4 separate regions of the Homo sapiens genome follow, and all the other regions are linked to region 1. The links are contacts of gene promoters, found by promoter capture Hi-C in human tissues and cell types (Jung and others, 2019). All regions are on one chromosome and are shown on one strand. The core of a region is centred on a gene start or on the middle of the fragment in contact, and the rest is flanking DNA. Distances in the headings are between cores, read along the strand shown.

Region 1 (2,700 bases), core at 89-2,588:
TCCTATCCCTTCTCCTATACTCTCTGTGGGCAGAGGTGACGAGGGAGCAGCAAAACACCTGCAATTGTCTGCACTAGGCCAGGTCAGGCCCTTCCTAGCTGACGACCTAGGAAGTTGGGAAGGTAAAGGGCCAATAGAGGGAACCCTCACCCCACCCTCCACCCCAACATCAGCCCTGGAGACACCCCGAGGCAGCCAATGACTCACCTCTCTGTGATCCAAACAGCTGGGAGGCAGCGATTTTATTGGACTCTAGGACTTCAAGGTACAGTGAGGACAGAAGGGGTCAGGACCACAAAAGGTGAACCAATCTCCAGAGATTCCCTGGAAAAGGGTCCAGGAGTAAGGACACCTAGGAGCCTATCAAACCGTGATAAGGCTGAGCCCAAGATCGGGTCCCCAGTGGAAGGAGGATGTGTATCTTACCACTTGTACTGAGCCCCTATTATGTCTTTGCCCCTGGCTAATAATCCATCTGTCACTCAGTGAGCATGACTCTAATTGGTTATGTGACCTCGAGAGAGCTAATCCTCCTCTCTGGGCCTGTTGCCCCTTCCATGCACTGGGGTCTAAGACCCTTCATTTTGGGTCTAGGAGTGACATCAGCTAAGGCGCTGCACACAAATCAGGGATTAGGAGGATGTTATTCTGTTAGTCCCTGGGGGCGGAGTCTGGAGCCGGAGGGAGGGGATCCCACCACCATCTGGTGCTGTCCCAACCACCTGGAGTCCCATGCAGCCCTGAACTCCTGACGACCCCCTCAACCTAGGCCCAGCAGCGCCGTCTGACTCCTTCTCAGGTTGCAAAGAGAAAGTAGGGGATCAGAGGCCTGACCCCAGCCCCTGGATAAGCCTAGGAAATCGCCGATCCCCCTGCAGCCCCCTTTGGATTGCAGCGTCTCACCCAGGGCCCAGCCCCGACACAGCGGCTACCGGGTCACGGGAGGACAAGCGACCCGAGCCTGTGGGGGCGGTACCGGCCTTGGTGACGTCTCAATGTCATATGCAAATAGAACGACGTCATGGTCTACCGGGCGTGCGGCAACCAATCGGGAGCCGGGAACGCGGCCCCGGCGGCCGCCGGCGGAGACAGACAAAGGCCCGGGCGCGGGGGGCGCAGGGCGTGTCCGTGGCAGGGGAGCCCCCAGGCCCACCCGGGTCGGGACTCACCTGGGGGCGGGAGGGGGGCGGCACGGCGTTGAGGTAGTTGTGCGGCGGGGCGTCCCAGGGTCGCCGGCCGCTCACAGGCCGGGCCGCATCGCCGGGACTCGCGGGGGAGGCGGCGGGGCCGCGGTCGCTCCGGGCTGCTGAGCTCGCCCGCGGGGCTTTGAGTCTGTGCGGCCGCTGCGGCGGGGCTCACGGCACAAATTGGAACGTTCAAACAGCTGATTGTGACGTCACAAAGGGGCCCGCCCGCCTCGCGTCACCGGCTGGCGGGGCGGCGGCCAATCCCGGGCTGCGGATCCCCCCCTGCCCCTCCCCTCCCCTCCCCTCCCGGTTTGCGGGCCGGGCGCTCGGGCCGGGAAACGTTCTCGGAACCGGGAGGGTGAGTGTTCGGGGAGGCAGCTGCGGGGAGCTGGGAGCCCTGCGCCGCGGCGAGCTCTCCGCGAGGAGGATCTCCACTCCCTCCTACCGGCTCCTTATTTTCCTGATTCTTCCCGGATCGCAGCGCCCTCACCTCTCCCACTGCTCCCCAAATCCTTTCACTGCATCCTATATCCAAGTCCCCCGATGCGGACCCTGTTCTCGACCCACACCACGTCCGTGCACCTGCATTCTCCCCACTGCCCTTATTCCTGCTCTCCCTCCCCCCTCTGGCTCACCTCCTCAGCCTTACACACTCTGCTTTCCCACCCCGTTTTTCCTCAGCTCGGCGGGCTTGAGAAAAGAGGGACATCCCCAACCCCCGGTTCCCGGGGAGCATCTGGGAATGTAGAGAAGTTAGTGAAGCTGACGTGAAATTTCGCAGAGTAGGACTTGGAGAGGAATTGCCCTGGGCTGAGTAAACATTGACCTGAGACGGCTCCGCGCTTGAACGTTTACATACCTTATTTAATCTATGTTGCTACCGGGGCTGTAAAGAAGTGGCAGGACAGGGACTGATTATGAGTCCTGATTTACACGTGGGAAAGCTGAGTCTCACAATCTCACTGTTAGCGTGTGAACTCATGTTCAACAATGCATTCAACATTTATTAGGCACCTACTATTGCACCACCATACCACTAGCTGACATGTATTGGCACACTTACTGTGTGCCACGACCTGTGCTATGGGTGTGTTTTTTTATCTTCACAACAACCCAAAAGGTAGATATTGTCCCGTTTAACAGTTGAGGAAACAGACTCAGAGAGCTCAAGTGACTTTCTTAGGTCACAAAAGTACAGTCAATGGCAGAGCCAGGATTTGAACCCATAGCTCCCAGCCCTGACCCTCTCCATTCTCTACATGAACCAGATGGTCTAAACCTCAGGGCGCTTTAGCCTCCCCAGAGTCCTGGCTTTCAGTCCTGACTGTGCCCTAGACTTGCTGTGTGACCTCAAGTCATGTTACCTCTCTGGGTCTCAGTTTGTCAAACAAACATATCCAGGCTTCCCTCTAGAGCTGCCATTGTAAGATTCTTCCACACTCTCTGCCCTCAGGATTCCACCCACCCCACGCTCTAGGCCCCAGCTCTCCCAGTGGCCTGGGAGATGCCCGAG
Region 2 (2,700 bases), core at 83-2,582, 130 kb before region 1:
TGAACCAGGGATGCGAAGGTTGCAGTGAGCCGAGATCGCACTACTGCACCCCAGCCTGGGTGACAGAGCAAGAGTCCATCTCTAAAAAAAATAAATAAAATAAAATAAAATAGCTCCTAAGTGGAAACCCACATGCTCATTAACAGTAGAATGGATAAATTATGGTGTATTCAAACAATAAAATGCTGGCCAGGTGTGGTGGCTCACATCTGTAATCCCAGCACTCTGGGTGGCAGAGGTGGGAGGATCACTTGAGCCCAGGAGTTTGAGACCAACCTGGGCAACATGGTGAAACCCCGTCTCTACAAAAAATACAAAAATTAGCATGGTGTAGTGGCATGCACCTGTGGTCCTAGCTACTAGGGAGGCTGAGGCAGAAGGATTACTTGAGCCTGGGAGGTCAAGGCTGCAGTGACCTGTGATCCCACCACTGCACTCCAACCTGGGTGACAGAGCAAGACTCTGTCTCAAAAAAATAAAAAATAAATAATGAAATGCTACCCAGCAATGAAAATGAACATGCTACAACTACATGCAACAATGTAGATGAATCTGTAAGTTTAACTCCTGGTGAGACTAATCTATGGAGTTAGAAGTTAAAATACTGTTTAACCTTGGGGGCTGTGGGTAATGACTGGAAGGGGCTTCTGTGGGGCTGAATGTTCTATTTCTTGATTTGGGTGTTTGTTAGACATGTGTGTTGGCTTTGTGGAAATTCAACAGGCTTTACACTTACGATTTCTGTACTTTTATGTCTTTATATTATACTCTAATAAAAAGCTTTAAAATTTCAGAATATTTTTGAAAACAGTTTTTTTTTTCTCCCCCACCCCCACCTTTTTGTGTATGTATGGTCACTTGATATTCTTCCACTTTTTAAAATTGTGTAATTATTAGTCTATTTCTTCTATTTTTTCAATGATTTTTTTCCTGAAGAGCAAGCCATGGCTTGCCCATAGTAAGCCCCCACCCCACCACCGCTTTTTTTTTTTTTTTTTTGAGATAGAGTCTCACTCTGTCATCCAGGCTGGAGTGCAGTGGTGCAGTCTCAGCTCACTGCAACCTCTGCTTCCCAGGCTCAAGTGATCCTCCCATCTCAGCTTCCCATGGAGCTGGGACTACAGGCATGATGCACCACCACGATTGGCTAATTTCTGTATTTTTTTGTAGAGACGGGGTTTTGCCATGTTGCCCTGGCTGGTCCCTAATTCCTGGGCTGACACAATCCACCTACCTCCACCTCCGAAAGTGCTGGGATTACAGGCATGAGCCACTGCGCCTCGCCATAGCATGTCTTTATGCAAAGCACAAGTGACCCCCTCCTCAAGGCATTTTATTTCCATATATCTGAAAATTGTTACAACGAACAGATTCTGAAATAACAAGGCATTTTACTGCCATCTACTGGTAAATTATCATAATAAATTTGCAAATTATAATGTCATGTGAATGGTGTCCACTTAAAAGTGATATCCTTCAAGACTAGTGAACAATACAGTCAGGATGGCTAGAAGTGACCCCAGGAAACTAAGGGGCAAGATGTCTGCTTTTGCCTTCTTTGTGCAGACGTGCAGAGAAGAGCATAAGAAAAATCCAGAGGTCCCTGTCAATTTTGCAGAATTTTCCAAAAAGTGCTCTGAGAGGTGGAAGACAATGTCTGGGAAAGAGAAGTCTAGGCTGGGCACGGCGGCTTACGCCTGTAATCTCAGCACTTTGGGAGGGTGAGTTGGGTGGATCACCTGAGGTAAGGAGTTTGAGACCAGCCTGGCCAACATGGTGAAACCTCGTCTCTACTAAAAATACAAAAAACTAGCCGGGCGTGTTGGTGGGCGCCTGTAATCCCAGCTACTGGGGAGGCTGAGGCAGGAGAATGGCTTGAACCCAGGAGGCAGAGGTTGCGGTGAGCTGAGATCGTGCCACTGCACTCCAGCCTGGGCAATAAGAGCAAAACTCCATCTCAGAAAAAAAAAAAGAGAGAGAGAGTCTAAATTCGATTAAATGGCAAAGGCGGATAAAGTGCACTGTGATAGAGAAATGAAGGATTATGGACCAGCTAAGGGAGGCAAGAACGATCCTAATGCCCCCAAAAGGCCACTGTCTGGATTCTTCCTGTTCTGTTCAGAATTCTGCCCCAAGATCAAATCCACAAACCCTGGCATCTCTATTGGAGACGTGGCAAAAAAGCTGGGTGAGATGTGGAATAACTTAAATGACAGTGAAAAGCAGCCTTATGTCACTAAGGTGGCAAAGCTGAAGAAGTATGAGAAGGATGTTGCTGACTATAAGTCGAAAGGAAAGTTGGACGGCACAAAAGGTCCTGCTAAAGTTGCCTGGGAAAAGATGGAAGAAGAAGATGAAGAAGATGGGGAGGAAGAGAAGGAGGATGAATAAATAAACTGTTTGCCTATAAAAAAAAAAGGTGATATCCTTCTGCAGGGCAAAATTCATCCAACTAAATGTGGTAAGTTTGTCATTTGGCACTGTTGTGACGAACCCTGCAGACAGTAAAATGTTGACACTTTCTAGATGGTTTTGTTCTTTCTTTTTTCCCCTGTTTTATTATTGTTTTTCTTAAAGACATCATTGAAGTATTCACTGTCAGTCTTATCACTGCAGAGCTTGAGCCTGTTTGGACACACATGAAAGTAGAAGTCCAATAAATACAAATCAAATTATCAAAGAACAATTGATTTGCTTTTT
Region 3 (2,700 bases), core at 77-2,576, 230 kb after region 1:
GTCCAGTTAATTACAAGAGTTTCAAGTGTAAAAATATTCATCACAGTAACTTTGACTAGGGCATTCATTTGATTTAGAACCCATAAAAAATCATTAATTCCAGTAAATATCTATACATAAGAAATAGTTGATCACATCTGAAAAAAACACTGAATATAACATCTATGTATGGACATGTTCATGTATGTATGAACATGTATTTATCTATCAAAGTCAGTTATATCAAACGATAGATATAAAAATGGCTGGTGTCCGGGCATGCTGGTTTATGCCTGTAATCCCAGCACTTGGGGAAGATGAGGCAGGAGGATCATTTGAATCCAGGAGTTCAAAACCAGCCTGGGCAACATAAGGGGACCCTGTCTCTACTAAAAATTAGCCAGGTGTGGTGAAGTGCATCTGTAGTGTCAGCTAGCGAGAAGGCTGAGGCAAGAGGATCACTTGAGCCCAGGAGGTCAAGGCTGCAGTAAGCCATGATGGCACCACTGCACTCCAGCCTGGGTGACAGAGTGAGATCCTGTCTCAGAAAAAATAACACATAAAAATAAAGTAGCTGGTTAAAATTATATCAGAAAATGCTTTTACTTACATTTGAAGATTCCTGCAATCTGAAAGTAATGGCTACTGAGGAAAAAGTGACAATGTTTGCTTATTCAGATGGTTTCAAGTTTAATTTTCTTCTTTAAAAAAAAGAAATATATATATATATATATTTACAGAGGTAAGGCCTCAATATGTTGCCCAGACTGGTCCTGAACTCCTGAGCTCAAGTGATCTGCCCACCTCGGCCTCCCCAAGTGCTGGGATTACATGAGGTTTAATTTTCTGAATAACCAAAGTCACAAATGATCTAATTGATAAATCTATTTATTTGCTCTAAAAATAGATGAAAGAGATTCTAATGCTTCCCATTTTACCTGTTTTTCTGTGAGTTAAGTATTTTCACAATCACTGTGTAATATAAAGCAACACAACAAAGTTAAGGCAGTACAGAGATACAGTTCCAATACTAACCTGACACCAGAACCGGAAATACTGAACCTTTGCTTTGAAGTCCCGAACATAGGCTATCTGAGGTCCATTGTCTCTGAGGAAGAACAAGGGTTAACAGGACATATATAGCTGCTTGTAAAAGATAATGCTGAAGGAAAGCAAAATATCCCACCCTCTCTCAGCACTTACTAACCAAATTCAAAAATATAGCATATTCCTAACAAAACCATTCTTTGCTTTTTGAGAGATATTTCCCCAAGAATACTTTTAAGTAACAGAAAAAACAAACAAAAAACTTTGATTTTGTTGAAACTACTGTTGTGGGATTTTCTTTTCTATGCTGCCAAATCTAAGAGGGCTAAGTAAAGGGGTTTCTATCTGAGAATGCTGTCTATCCCAACATCAATTCCCTCCTTTATCTTTAAGTAAAACCCTTGCTATTTAACTAAGTAGAATGCTACATATAATAAAGACTACATTTCTCTATATGGCCATGTGACTTAAGTCTCTAAGTGAAAGTGGCATATGAAACGTTCAAGAAGGATCTTTTTGGCCAGGTGCAGTGGTTCACACCTATAAATCCCAGCACTTTGGGAGGCTGAGGCGGGTGGATCATCTGAGGTCAGGAGTTTGAGACCAGCCTGACCAACATGTTGAAACTCTGTCTCTACTAAAAATTATAAAAATTAGCCGGGTGTGGTGGCAGGTGCCTCTAATCCCATCTACTTGGGAGGCTGAGGCAGGAGAATCACTTGAACCTCAGAGGTCAAGGCTGCAGTGAGCTGAGATTGCACCACTGCACTCCAGCAAGGGTGACAAAGCTAGACTCCGTCTAAAAAAAAAAAGGAAGGATTTTCTAAAAGACAGCTAAAATAGCTAAAAAGTGTGTGAGTGTGTGTGTGTGTGTGTGTGTGTGTGTTTATAATTTGCCCTTCCTCCAAATTCCAGCCTGGAGTGTGACCCTGATAGCTTAAGTTTCAGCAGCTGTCACAGACCATGAGGTCACTTTGAAGAATGAGACCATACTCTAGGATGGTAGAAAAGACAGAAGAATTTTAGATCACTATGACACCATGGGGTTTCTCAGCTAGCCTTGGACTTAATACCACTGCATTATCTCCCTCTTAAAAATTCAATGTATATCAGTGTAGAAATACAACTGATTTTGTACATTGACTTTATATTCTGTTACGCTGTTAAATTCACTTACTAGTTCTAGTAATTTTTTCTAGATTCTTCATGATTTTCTGTATACAAACGTTATTTGTGTGAGGGGAAAAGAGACAGTTTTACTTCTTCCTTTCCAATTTATACATCTTATATTTCTTTTCTTTTCTTTCTTTTTTTTTTTGAGATGGAGTCTTGCTCTGTCTCCCAGGCTGGAGTGCAGTGGCGCAATCTCTGCTCACTGTAACCTCTGACCCAGAGGTTCAAGCGATTCTCCTGCCTCCGCCTCCTGAGTAGCTGGGATTACAGGTGCCCACCACCATGACTGACTAATTTTTGTATTTTTAGTAGAGACGGGGTTTAGCCATGTTGGCCAGGCTGGTCTCAAACTCCTGGCCTCAAGTGATCTGCCTGCCTGGGCCTCCCAAAGTGCTGGGATTACAGGCGTGAGCCACCATGCCCGGCCTGTATTTCTTTTTCTCATCTCACTGCACTGGGTAGGAATACTGACACAATGTTGAATGAAGTAATGACAGTAGA
Region 4 (2,700 bases), core at 74-2,573, 250 kb after region 1:
CAGCCACTGCACCCCAGCCTGGGCAACACAGGGAGACCCCCATCTCTAAAAAACCAATTATTCACTGAGCCTATGAGGTAGGAATGTCTAGTCCCAGCATATAAAAGTCTGAAAGGGTGCAAGCTGTAAGATGGGATTCTATCAACCTGGGTCAATCCTGAAGGTATGTTGGGTGGGTTGCTTCATCTGATATACTACCAGTGCTGTCACTGGTTCTACAAGTAAGGTATATGCCCCAAAGGCAGCAAGTCATAAAGCAGTGCTCAGTCTGAGTAGGATAATCATAAACATCTGTAGCACTACTTCAACATGAGGAATGTGAAACCTAAAAATAAGCAGACTGTAAAATAGCAGAACAAGACTCTAATAACCTGGCTAAGCTGGATCTTTAACACAGTATTTTAGCAAAGTGTTGTTGGCTAAAGTAAAAATGAGAAAGATCTGGATGATAAAGAAAATGATGAATACAGAAGGCAAGGACCAACTTGCAGGAAAGACTTTTCTGATAAAGGAAACGCAGCTCACAATTCAGCTTTCTATAAGCAAGAGGCATTTTTTTCTACACCTGCCCTAGAGAAGGAGTAAAACAGTTTTGTTTCTGACCATAACCATGAAGCAGGTCATAGTTTTTCTGCAACTTTTTTTTTTTTTTTTTTTTTTTGAGACAGGGTCTCACTCTGTTGCCCAGGCTGAAGCACAGTGGCAAAATCTTGGCCTACTTGCAGCCTTGACTTCCCAGGCTCAGGTGATCCTCCCACCTCAGCCTCCCAAGAAACTGGGATTAGGAGGTGTTCCACCACACCCAGATTATTTTTTGTATTTTTTTATAGAGACAGGTTTTCGCTATGTTGCCCAGGCTGATCTCCAACTCCCGGGCTCAAGCAATGTTCCCACTTCAGCCTCCCAAAGCGCTGAGATGACAGGTGTGAGCCACCATGCCTGGCCTGCAATAAAATTAAGAGGATAAATACATATCCTTTGGATATATCATTTTAGTGCATGAGTTTTTTTCTCCTTCTCTAACATAAGACATACAACTCTAGAAATAAAGCTGGGAAACTCTAGAAATAAAACCATCCATGTCTGGGAATGCAATCTGACAGGTTAAGTTTAATATGCCTTGTAAGGGCAACATCCCCTCTTCTAAAGTACTTCATACTAACCATTCACTGACCACTCTTAGGCTTCAGTAGAGACAGAGGACTCCTTAACTCCAGGCTGCCAAGCTTTGGTAAAGACAGAAATTCACAACTTGCTTTCTTCTTTTTTTTGAGACAGGGTCTTGCTCTCTCACCCGGGCTGGAGTGCAATAGTGTGATCTCGACTCTCTGAAGCCTCAAACTCCCAAGCTCAAGCGATCCTCCCACGTCAGCCTCAAGAGTAGCTGGGACTATAGGCAAGCACCACCATGCCTGGCTAATTTCTTTTTTTTTTTTTTTTTGAGACGGAGTCTCGCTCTGTCGCCTATGCTGGAGTGCAATGGCGCGATCTTGGCTCACTGCAACCTCCGCCTCCCGGGTTCAAGTGACTCTCCTGCCTCAGCCTCCTGAGCAGCTGGGATTACAGGCACGGGCCACCAAGCCCACCTAATTTTTTTGTATTTTTAGTAGAGACAGGGTTTCACCATGTTGGTCAGGCTGGTCTTGAACTCCTGAACTGAAGCGATTCACCTGCCTCAGCCTCCTAAAGTGTTAGGATTATAAGTGTAAGTCACTGCATCGGGCCCACAACTTTCATATGTCCTCCTGTTGTTATAAGCTAATAACAGTAACAGTTATATGTATAGCCTAATACATTTTTTACCTTTTTGACTCACAGAAGTGTTTTGAGAATAGATACCTTTAAATAAGAGCAATGAGATTTCTCAAAGAAAAGCTTATACCCCCAGTAGCATTTATTAACCAGACTCATGTGATCTTGACACACCAACATTTTTTCTCCATAACTCAGTACTGCTAGAACAATGTATCTTGGGGACCAACTTTTCCCAATCTAGAAATATCACTTTCTGAATTTATCCCAATATTATGAAGTATCTTCAGCTCTTGAAGACAAAACTCTGGTTCCACAATGGGCTTTATGTTGTTTTCCACTTTCTATTATAATATATTATTATCTTGCTTCTATGCAAAACTTTCTATACTGCCATCTTTATTCTGAAACCTTGCTATATAATGCTGTGAGTATTACATAACACTATAAAATAGAACCTAGTAGGGTAGGTCCAGCTTAAAGTCTATTAAGGTCTATTTTAATAACTAAGGTATCAGATATACTCAATAACAGCACATGCTCTTGAGCTCCATGGTGTAGGGCATGAAGTTGACACCTTCACATGTGCTCCTTCCACTCTTCTATCAGATAATGCCAACTTAACCAAACTCTGAACCTTGTTTTAGGAGAACCAATGTGATTACAATTTTTTAAAAAGCTTTTTATTTTGAATTAATTATTACTCACAGGATGTAAAAAATTGCACAAAAAGTCTCACATATACTTCATTTTTCTCCGATGGTGACATCTTATATAACTACGTACAGCATCAAAACCACAGAAGTGGCATTGGTACATTATTGTTAACCACAAACATTGTTAAATTTTCACCATGTTTAAAAGCTGAATTCATTTCTGTAAATATATAGTTCTATGCATTATCTCATGTATACATTATTAATGTAATCACCTATTACCAAAATCAAG

The links. The method cuts DNA at HindIII sites, captures the fragments that hold promoters and counts their contacts. A contact is called where the count stands out against the background at its distance.
Region 2: a contact is called between a fragment that was not itself captured here and the fragment with the promoter of TP53INP2 in region 1, in 2 of the 25 tissues and cell types used here (mesenchymal stem cells and thymus).
Region 3: a contact is called between a fragment that was not itself captured here and the fragment with the promoter of TP53INP2 in region 1, in 2 of the 25 tissues and cell types used here (mesenchymal stem cells and spleen).
Region 4: a contact is called between a fragment that was not itself captured here and the fragment with the promoter of TP53INP2 in region 1, in 4 of the 25 tissues and cell types used here (dorsolateral prefrontal cortex, lymphoblastoid cells, mesenchymal stem cells and 1 more).

The regions. Positions count from the first base shown.
Region 1 is chr20:34,702,982-34,705,681 of GRCh38, reverse strand. TP53INP2 (tumor protein p53 inducible nuclear protein 2) reads right to left here and starts at 1,338. Exons shown (of 5, transcript NM_021202.3): 1 at 1,170-1,338; 2 at 208-324. It overlaps LOC105372599 (a long non-coding RNA gene), which reads left to right and starts at 1,500. Exons shown (of 2, transcript XR_936690.3): 1 at 1,500-1,545; 2 at 1,869-2,023. RefSeq lists a silencer at 1,063-1,542. The HindIII fragment of the contact is 10,895 bases long and covers 1-2,700 here.
Region 2 is chr20:34,833,266-34,835,965 of GRCh38, reverse strand. It overlaps the pseudogene HMGB3P1. Among named protein-coding and RNA genes, the nearest start is that of NCOA6, 9.0 kb to the right of the region's middle. The HindIII fragment of the contact is 6,602 bases long and covers 1-2,700 here.
Region 3 is chr20:34,468,435-34,471,134 of GRCh38, reverse strand. ITCH (itchy E3 ubiquitin protein ligase) reads right to left here. Exons shown (of 25, transcript NM_031483.7): 15 at 1,015-1,087. Among named protein-coding and RNA genes, the nearest start is that of MIR644A, 3.5 kb to the right of the region's middle. The HindIII fragment of the contact is 6,936 bases long and covers 1-2,700 here.
Region 4 is chr20:34,450,031-34,452,730 of GRCh38, reverse strand. The region is part of intron 12 of ITCH (itchy E3 ubiquitin protein ligase); the gene reads right to left. Among named protein-coding and RNA genes, the nearest start is that of MIR644A, 15 kb to the left of the region's middle. The HindIII fragment of the contact is 3,166 bases long and covers 1-2,700 here.